Linked DNA regions of Homo sapiens: region 1 is linked to region 2. Evidence: promoter capture Hi-C in human tissues and cell types (Jung and others, 2019). All regions are on one chromosome and are shown on one strand. Each heading gives the region's core, a stretch centred on a gene start or on the middle of the fragment in contact. The rest is flanking DNA. Distances are from core to core; before and after follow the strand shown. Region 1 overlaps LRRC36 (leucine rich repeat containing 36). Region 2 holds the start of AGRP (agouti related neuropeptide).

The links. The method cuts DNA at HindIII sites, captures the fragments that hold promoters and counts their contacts. A contact is called where the count stands out against the background at its distance.
Region 1: a contact is called between a fragment that was not itself captured here and the fragment with the promoter of AGRP in region 2, in 1 of the 25 tissues and cell types used here (mesendoderm cells).

What each region holds. Positions count from the first base shown.
Region 1 is chr16:67,329,179-67,333,356 of GRCh38, reverse strand. The region is part of intron 1 of LRRC36 (leucine rich repeat containing 36); the gene reads right to left. Among named protein-coding and RNA genes, the nearest start is that of LRRC36, 4.5 kb to the right of the region's middle. The HindIII fragment of the contact is 7,189 bases long and covers 1-4,178 here.
Region 2 is chr16:67,481,011-67,484,952 of GRCh38, reverse strand. It overlaps AGRP (agouti related neuropeptide), which reads left to right and starts at 1,406. Exons shown (of 4, transcript NM_001138.2): 1 at 1,406-1,436; 2 at 1,552-1,684; 3 at 1,843-1,928; 4 at 2,135-2,382. The coding sequence starts at 1,555. The coding sequence ends at 2,317. It overlaps ATP6V0D1-DT (ATP6V0D1 divergent transcript), which reads right to left and starts at 3,559. Exons shown (of 4, transcript NR_184227.1): 1 at 3,434-3,559; 2 at 625-843. ATP6V0D1 (ATPase H+ transporting V0 subunit d1) reads left to right here and starts at 3,796. Exons shown (of 8, transcript NM_004691.5): 1 at 3,796-3,942. The coding sequence starts at 3,867. RefSeq lists a silencer at 3,516-3,685 and an enhancer at 3,796-3,845. The HindIII fragment of the contact is 1,388 bases long and covers 907-2,294 here.

The DNA.
Region 1 (4,178 bases), core at 262-2,761, 150 kb after region 2:
AGTTCAAGACCAGCCTGGCCAACATGGTGAAACCCTGTCTCTACTAAAAACACAAAAATTAGCAGGGTATGGTGGGACGTGCCTGCAGTCCCACCTACTCAGGATGCTGAGGCAGGAGAATCACTTGAACCTGGGATAGAGGTTGCAGTGAGCTGAGGTCGGGCCACTGCACTGCAGCCTGGGCAATAGGGCAAGATTCTTATCTCAAAATAAATAAATAAATACTAAAACGGTGAACTTTATAGTATGTGAATTATATCTTTTTAAAATGCACCCATCTCTACAAAAAAAGAAAAAATTAGCTGGGCATGGTGGTGCACACCTGTAGTCCCAGCTACTCAGTAGGCAGAGTCAGGAGGATTGCTTGAGCCCAGGAGGTCGGGACTGCAGTGAGCCATGATCATGCCACTGCACTCCAGCTTGGGCAACAGAATAAGACCATGTTTTTTTTAAAAAAAAATAAATAAATAAAATAAATAAATAAATAAAATTTTCCTGACTTTGAGGGCAGTGTATTGGTAATTCTGTGGTATGTTATGATCTAACACCCTGAGAGTCTGTTAACATGGGACAAAAGCTAAGGACAATTATGGTTTCCATCAATGACCCACAGCATTTCTCATGCCTTTCACTGCAGTCTATTTTGAAGAGCAGACATTTTAACATTTTAAGAAGGAATGTGAATTATTAAAATGATAAACTGCCACAAAGACAAACATTCTTTAATGATTCACATGAATGCATGTCTTAAGAGGTTATGCATTTCGTTTCAGTGTTTATTTATTTATTTATTATTTTTTTTTGAGACGGAGTCTCGCTCTGTCACCCAGGCTGGAGTGCAATGGCACCATCTTGGCACACTGCAAGCTCTGCCTCCCAGGTTCACGCCATTCTCCTGTCTCAGCCTCCCAAGTAGCTAGGACTACAGGCGCCCACCACCATGCCCAGCTAATTTTTTTGTATTTTTAGTAGAGACAGGGTTTCATCATGTTAGCCAGGGTTGTCTCGATCTCCTGACCTCGTGATTCGCCCTCCTCAGCCTCCCAAAGTGCTGGGATTACAGGCGTAAGCCACCGCGCCTGGCCGTTTCAGTGTTTATAAAGAGTGAAGACAAATCAGAGAACAAATCAAACACTGCACAGCATAGATGCCAAGAATAAAAGAATGATCTTCCAATTTTAATATATGGGTTACATAACCCCAGTGGGCAAAAATTTGCTATTTGAAAATAACAAATCAAGTAGTCTCTCTAATGAAAACCATTTACAGCTCATTTGGAAATTGAATTAACAACCTTTAACAAAGCTTATTTATAATGACAATGAATGTTTCTAATAAATAAAACTTTTTCTTTTTCTTTTTTTTTTTGAGATGGAGTTTCGCTCTCTTTGCCCAGGCTGGAGTGCAATGGTGTGATCTTGGCTTACTGCAACCTCCGCCTTCAGGGTTCAAGCGATTCTCCTGCCTCAGCCTCCCAAGTAGCTGGGATTACAGGCATGTGCCACCCCGCCCAGCTAATTTTTATATTTTTAGTAGAGATGGGGTTTCAACATGCTGGCCAGGCTGGTCTCAAACTCCCAACCTCAGGTGATCCACCCCCCTCGGCTTCCCAAAGTGCTGGGATTACAGGCGTGAGCCACTACACCTGGCCATAAAACTTTTTTAAAAAGACCTCAGGAGTCAACTTGAAAGATCACCTATTAACTAAAGTTAGGATAAACTGAACATCAATTATGATAAGAACTATAATGGATTAAAACTTACATTGAAATATATTGCTATGGTTTGAACGTCCCCTCCAAAACTCATGATGAAATGTATTAATTTATTCAGAGATAGGGCCTTGCTCTGTCAACTAGGCTGGAGGGCAGTAGCACTATCATAGTGCACTGCAGCCTAAAACTCCTGGGGTCAGAGGATCCTTCCACTTCAGCCTCCTGAGTAGCTGGGACTACAGGTACACACCACCAACACCCAGTTAATTTTTAAATTTTTTGTAGAGACAGGATCTTGCTGTGTTGCCCAGGCTGGTCTCAAATACCTGGCCTCATCCTCCTCCCTGGCCTTCCAAAGTGTGTAAGCCGCCATGCCCAGCTTTCATGTTGAAACGTAATTGCCAATGTAACAGCACTGCGAGGTGGGGCCTCTAAGAGGTGATTAGGTCAACGGTGGCTTCATGCTGTTATCATGGAGTTAGTTATCACGGGAGTTAGCTATCCTAATAAAGGAATTAGTTCAGTCTTCTCTCTCTCTCTCTCTCTCTCTCTCTCTCTCTCTCTCTCTCTCTTTCTCTCTCACATCTCACACATGCACCTTCTGCCCTTCCACCATGGAATGACCCTCACCAGATGTTGGCACCATGCTCTTGGACTTCTCAGCCTCCAGAACCATGAGCCAAATCAACTTCTGTTCTTTATAAATTACCTAGTCTATGGTATTCTGTTATGACAAGAGAAAAGGGACTAAGACATTTATTTATTTATTTATTTATTTAGACTGAGTCTCAGTCTTTCGTCCAGGCTGAAGTGCAGTGGTGCGATCTCAGTTCACTGCAACCTCTGCTTCCCAGGCTCAAGTGATTCTCCTGCCTCAGCCTCCTGAGTAGCTGGGATTATAGGCACCTGCCACCATGCCGGGCTAATTTTTTTTGTATTTTTAGTACAGATGAGGTTTCACCATGTTGGACAGACTGGTCTTGAACTCCTGACCTCAGGTGATCCATCCTCCTTGGCCTCCCAAAATGCTGGGATTACAGGCGTGAACGACCATGCCCAGCCCTAAGACATATATTTAAATCGATGAGTTTATAATGATACTGAGAAAGCAAAACAGTCCTCACTGGTCACCTTTGGAGAATGCTAAGAAAATAACTCATCATTCTGAAAGCTGGCATATAAGGTGAAAACAAATCAAGCTTTTATGCTGCCTTTCCTATACAAACTGTACCTCAGGATAAGCAAACAGTTGATGTGAGGAAATTTCTCTTTATAGAAGTATTACAGTTAATGAAGAAAAATGAAAGAAATAGACAATTACCATTTTGCAATCCCTAATGAATTAACTTAGGTAATCATATTCAGTGGCTGATATCACGAAAAGAAAGAACACTAGGCACCATATACTTCCTAACATAAACATACACCATTACCTATGAAATCGTCTTGTGAAAAAAAAAAAATCCAACCTGAATCTGATTAAGCCTCATCTAACTACCAATTCATAGGAAGTACAGGGAACACGGGAAAATGTTTAACATCTTAGGAATGCAATGAGCAAAGTTCAGGTTATAGTAAACTCTTTCAAAGCCAGTTTCTTCAAAAACAATTGAAAATGCGAGGGAAAAAAAATGGGGAGCCTACAGATCAAATAAGACTTAAGACATACATCAACCAATTGCAATATATGGACCATATACGGATTCTTATTTTATTTTATTTTTTAGATGGAGACTTGCTCTGCCACCCAAGCTGGAGTGCAGTGACGCGATCTCAGCTCACTACAACCTCCGTCTCCCGGGTTCAAGCGATTCTCCTGCCTCAGCCTCCCAAGTAGTTGGGATTACAGGTGTGAGCCACCATGTCCAGCTAATTTTTGTATTTTTAATAGAGATGGGGTTTCACCATGTTGGCCTGGCTGGTCTTGAACTCCTGGCCTCAAGTGATCCACCCACCTTGGCCTCCCAAAGTGCTGGGATTACAGGCATGAGCCAACGCACCCGGCCATGGATTCTAATTTTAAAAAATTATAGGACAACTGGGGAAATAAGAACACTAGTTAGATATTTCATGATATCAAGAAATCACTGTTCACTTTAGGAGGCTGAGTCACTTGAGGTCAGGAGTTCAAGACTAGCCTGGCTAGCATGGTGAAACCCCGTCTCTACTAAAAATACAAAAAAATTAGCCAGGCATGGTGGCACATGCCTGAAATCCCAGCTACTCAGGAAGCTGAGGCAGGAGAATTGCTTGAACCCTGGAGGCAGAGGTTGCAGTGAGCTGAGATCATGCCACTGCACTCCAGCCTGGGCAACAGAGCCAGACTCCATCTCAAAAACAAAACAAAACCAAAAAAAGAAATTACTGTTAAATTTTTTAGGTTGCATATGTGACTTTTTTTTAAAGTAATCTTAGCTTTTAAAAATACATACTGGCCAGGTGCTGTGGCTTGCACTTATAATC
Region 2 (3,942 bases), core at 157-2,656:
ATAACTTTTGTATTTTTAGTAGAGATAGGGTTTCACCATATTGGCCAAGCTGGTTTGAACTCCTGACCTCCAGTGATCCGCCCACCTTGGCCTCCCAAAATGCTGGGATTACAGGCGTGAGCCACCGTGCCTGGCCACCCTTTATCTTCTTTTCTTTTTGAGACAGGATCTTGCTCTGTCGCTCAGCCTGGAGTGTGGTGATGCAGTCATAGCTCACTGCACTCTTGAATCCCTGTGCTCAAGCCATCCTCCCACCTCAGCCTCTACTACAGGCATGCACCACTACACCCAGCTATTTTTTTATTTTTTGTAGCAACGGGGTCTCACCATGATACCCAGGCTGGTCTTAAACCCCTGGCCTTGTGATCCTCCCACCTTGGCCTCTCAAAATGCTGGAATTACAGGTGTGAGCCACCATACCTGGCCCCCTTCATCTTTTTTCCACTGCCTTGTGCCAACCCAGTTTGTGCACTGGGGCCTTGCGATCCTCTCAAAGCTGATTCAGCCTGCATTCCTTTCCCAGATGGACACGTGTGTGATAAACAGCTCTGCAGTGGGGTGAGGGAAGGCAGGGGCAGCAGGGTCCTGTATGTCCTGCCATCTCCACAAAAGGGCAGTCCTTACCCCAGCCTTGTGCTGATGAGACCAGGCATAGACAGTCCTGACGACACAGGGCGGAAGGGAGCAGCCATTAGTGCTAATGAGGCAGGCGGCCTGAAAGCTTTGTACTCTGCAGTGGCTCGCCCACCCAGGGAACAGTTCGTTCTGTTTCCTTGGCTTCCAGGAACCCTAGGCAGAAAGGGGTTTGGGGACAGGAGCAGGAGTGGGCGGTCTTGGAGAAACCTGGAGGGAGAAAGGGAGGGGAGGACCAGAAATGTAGTCAGGAGGGCCTAGGATTGGTTAGGTGGGCTTTTCCTTCCCCTTTCCCTCCAAAGAAACCCAGGTTCTGGTTCTGCACCTACCCCTGCCCAACAGTGGCCATTGGCCCATCACCCGCTCCAATGTCCTTGACCCGAATTCTTGGAAGCACAGGAAACAACATGCCACATAGGGGTTGAGTAAGCATCTCTGGGGCCACAAATTAAATTAAGCTTTCAGGGCCGCCTGCCTTGTTATTGCTAATGGTTCTAGCCCTGCTCAGCTCCTAGGTCCCTGTCCTGTGGAAATTTGTGGACCCTGGGCACCCTCTCTTGCTCCCAAATTTTAATCGGCTCCTGGAAACCTCACCCCAAATTGGAGATAGGCACTCCTCTTGTAGAACAAAAGGCTCAGGTTCAGGGAGTGAGGGCCTGAACTGTGCCCCCACCCTCCAGGAAGGGTCCTTCACGGCCTGGCTGCAGGGATCAGTCACGTGTGGCCCTTCATTAGGCCCTGCCATATAAGCCAAGGGCACGGGGTGGCCGGGAACTCTCTAGGCAAGAATCCCGGAGGCAGAGGTGAGTCCTCAGGTTGGGCAGGGACTCCTCCTCTCTGTGGGGTCTCTATCTGGGCACCTAGAGGGGACTCCAAGGATAAGGAGGGACTAAGTGGTACATCTTCCTGCTGAGCCAGGCCATGCTGACCGCAGCGGTGCTGAGCTGTGCCCTGCTGCTGGCACTGCCTGCCACGCGAGGAGCCCAGATGGGCTTGGCCCCCATGGAGGGCATCAGAAGGCCTGACCAGGCCCTGCTCCCAGAGCTCCCAGGTCAGTGTGAGCAAGGGTGGGACTGGGCGGGGCCTGAATACCCTCTGGCCACAAATAGTCTCCCCTGGCATAAACCCTCTTTCTCCCTTCCCAAACCCTCCCCTGGGAGGTGGGTGCTTTGTGCATGGGGGTTCCTGCCCTCACATCCTCTGCCCCAGGCCTGGGCCTGCGGGCCCCACTGAAGAAGACAACTGCAGAACAGGCAGAAGAGGATCTGTTGCAGGAGGCTCAGGCCTTGGCAGAGGTAACTGCTCAGGGAAAAGGGTAAGGTGGTGGCCCTTGGGAGGGGGCATTGGGTATTAGCTCCTCTCCCCAGCTCCAAACTCCCTCACCAGCGACGACACTACCGACCACCCCTTCCCATGCTCCACTGCCATCCTGCACAGGTTGGGACAGGTAAGATCCCTGGATCTGTCTTTAGAGGCCTGTGCTGGTTCCCCACCCCTGCAGGTACTAGACCTGCAGGACCGCGAGCCCCGCTCCTCACGTCGCTGCGTAAGGCTGCATGAGTCCTGCCTGGGACAGCAGGTGCCTTGCTGTGACCCATGTGCCACGTGCTACTGCCGCTTCTTCAATGCCTTCTGCTACTGCCGCAAGCTGGGTACTGCCATGAATCCCTGCAGCCGCACCTAGCTGGCCAACGTCAGGGTCGGGGCTAGGGTAGGGGCAAGGAAACTCGAATAAAGGATGGGACCAACCCCAAGGCTGTGGTTATTTCAAACGTGGCCGTCAAAGGAGGGAGGGTTCATGGAGGGGGTGGGAGTGTCACCAAGCCAAGAAACCACACATACTCTTATCCCAGGGCCTGGGCTACCCTATCATAGGAGGCACATACACGGGCGCTTTTAGGGGTCCTGGTGCCCCTGGGAAAAATAGAGAAGAGCCGCACTCCAGCTTTCGAAAATCTTGTACAGCAAGTGCGGGGAACGCAGGACGCAGCGTGGCACAGGGGCTATCACTCCTGGCTAACAAATAAGCCTTAGGCTCCAGGGCTTGCTGCTACTTCCACGCAAAGCCTGCCCCTCATCCTGTTACCAGAGGGAAGGCCAGGAGTGTGCGTTGTTCAGGTCCTTAGCGTTTCGAACAAAGAATTGAACAAAACCCAGAAAGTAACAAACGAATGACACACAGGAAGGAAGCAGACAGCTGGGATTTGTTAAAGCGAGAAAGCACTACGCAGGGTGGGAGTGGGCCTGAGCAAGAGGCTGAAGGGGCTCAGTTACAAAGTTTTCCGGGTTTTAAGTACTCCTTTTGCGGTCCCTGTCCGTTACCCCTTATCTGGATGAAGGGTTTGGTCCATGGCTAATTAATCCATTTATGCCTGAGGTTGCAATCTTTTTGAATTTTTGCAATCAGACCTTGGCCATGACCTTGAGCAGTAGGATATAAATAACTCCCATATGCTTAGCGTTCCAATAATGGAACACAAGGCATAAATGGGGCTAAGGTGAATTGGCGCCCTATGCAGATGAAGGGATGGCCCGTGCTTGGCCCGCAGCCAATCCAAGGCACTCTCCCTTTCAACTGAGACGTGGTGGAAGGGGGAGGGTTGTGGGGACAGTGGCCTTTGATCCTTTGTTACTTGGACATGGGGAGATGGGGTTTTTCTTTTTGGTTTAGCTTTAGTAAGCTCGCCTTAGTTGGCCTCCGGTTCCCTGCCCCCAGACCTTGGTGTTTTCCCTTGATTCAGCTTCAGAATTCAGCACGTATTGGCCTCAAGTTCCCCGCCTCCAGACCCTATTCTCCTACCTCAATCGGACCTCAGTTTCCCTCTGGGGAGGAGGCTGGCCCAGCAGTCTGGAAACTTTCCAAGCTTGAGAAGGGCTCGCTCCCTTCTTTACCCCGCCCGCCCTGCAGCGTCAAGTGCAGCAAACCGGGGAAAGCTAGAGAAGGCCCAGTCAAATCCCTGCGGCCACAGGCGCCACCAAGCGGCCGGCCTCAAACTTCCTCTTTTTAGCGCGCAGGCGCCGCAGGGCCAGCCCACGCCTGCACCGCGCTTCCGCGCAGCCACCCGGAAGCCGGGCACCGCTCAGAGCCACGCCCCCTTATGGTCACGTGAGGCGCTTGCGCGTCACCTGACGCACTTGACAGCCCGCTGAGGACGCAGCGTCAGCTGACCTGGGGAGTCGCGATTCGTGCCGGCCGGTCCTGGTTCTCCGGTCCCGCCGCTCCCGCAGCAGCCATGTCGTTCTTCCCGGAGCTTTACTTTAACGTGGACAATGGCTACTTGGAGGGACTGGTGCGCGGCCTGAAGGCCG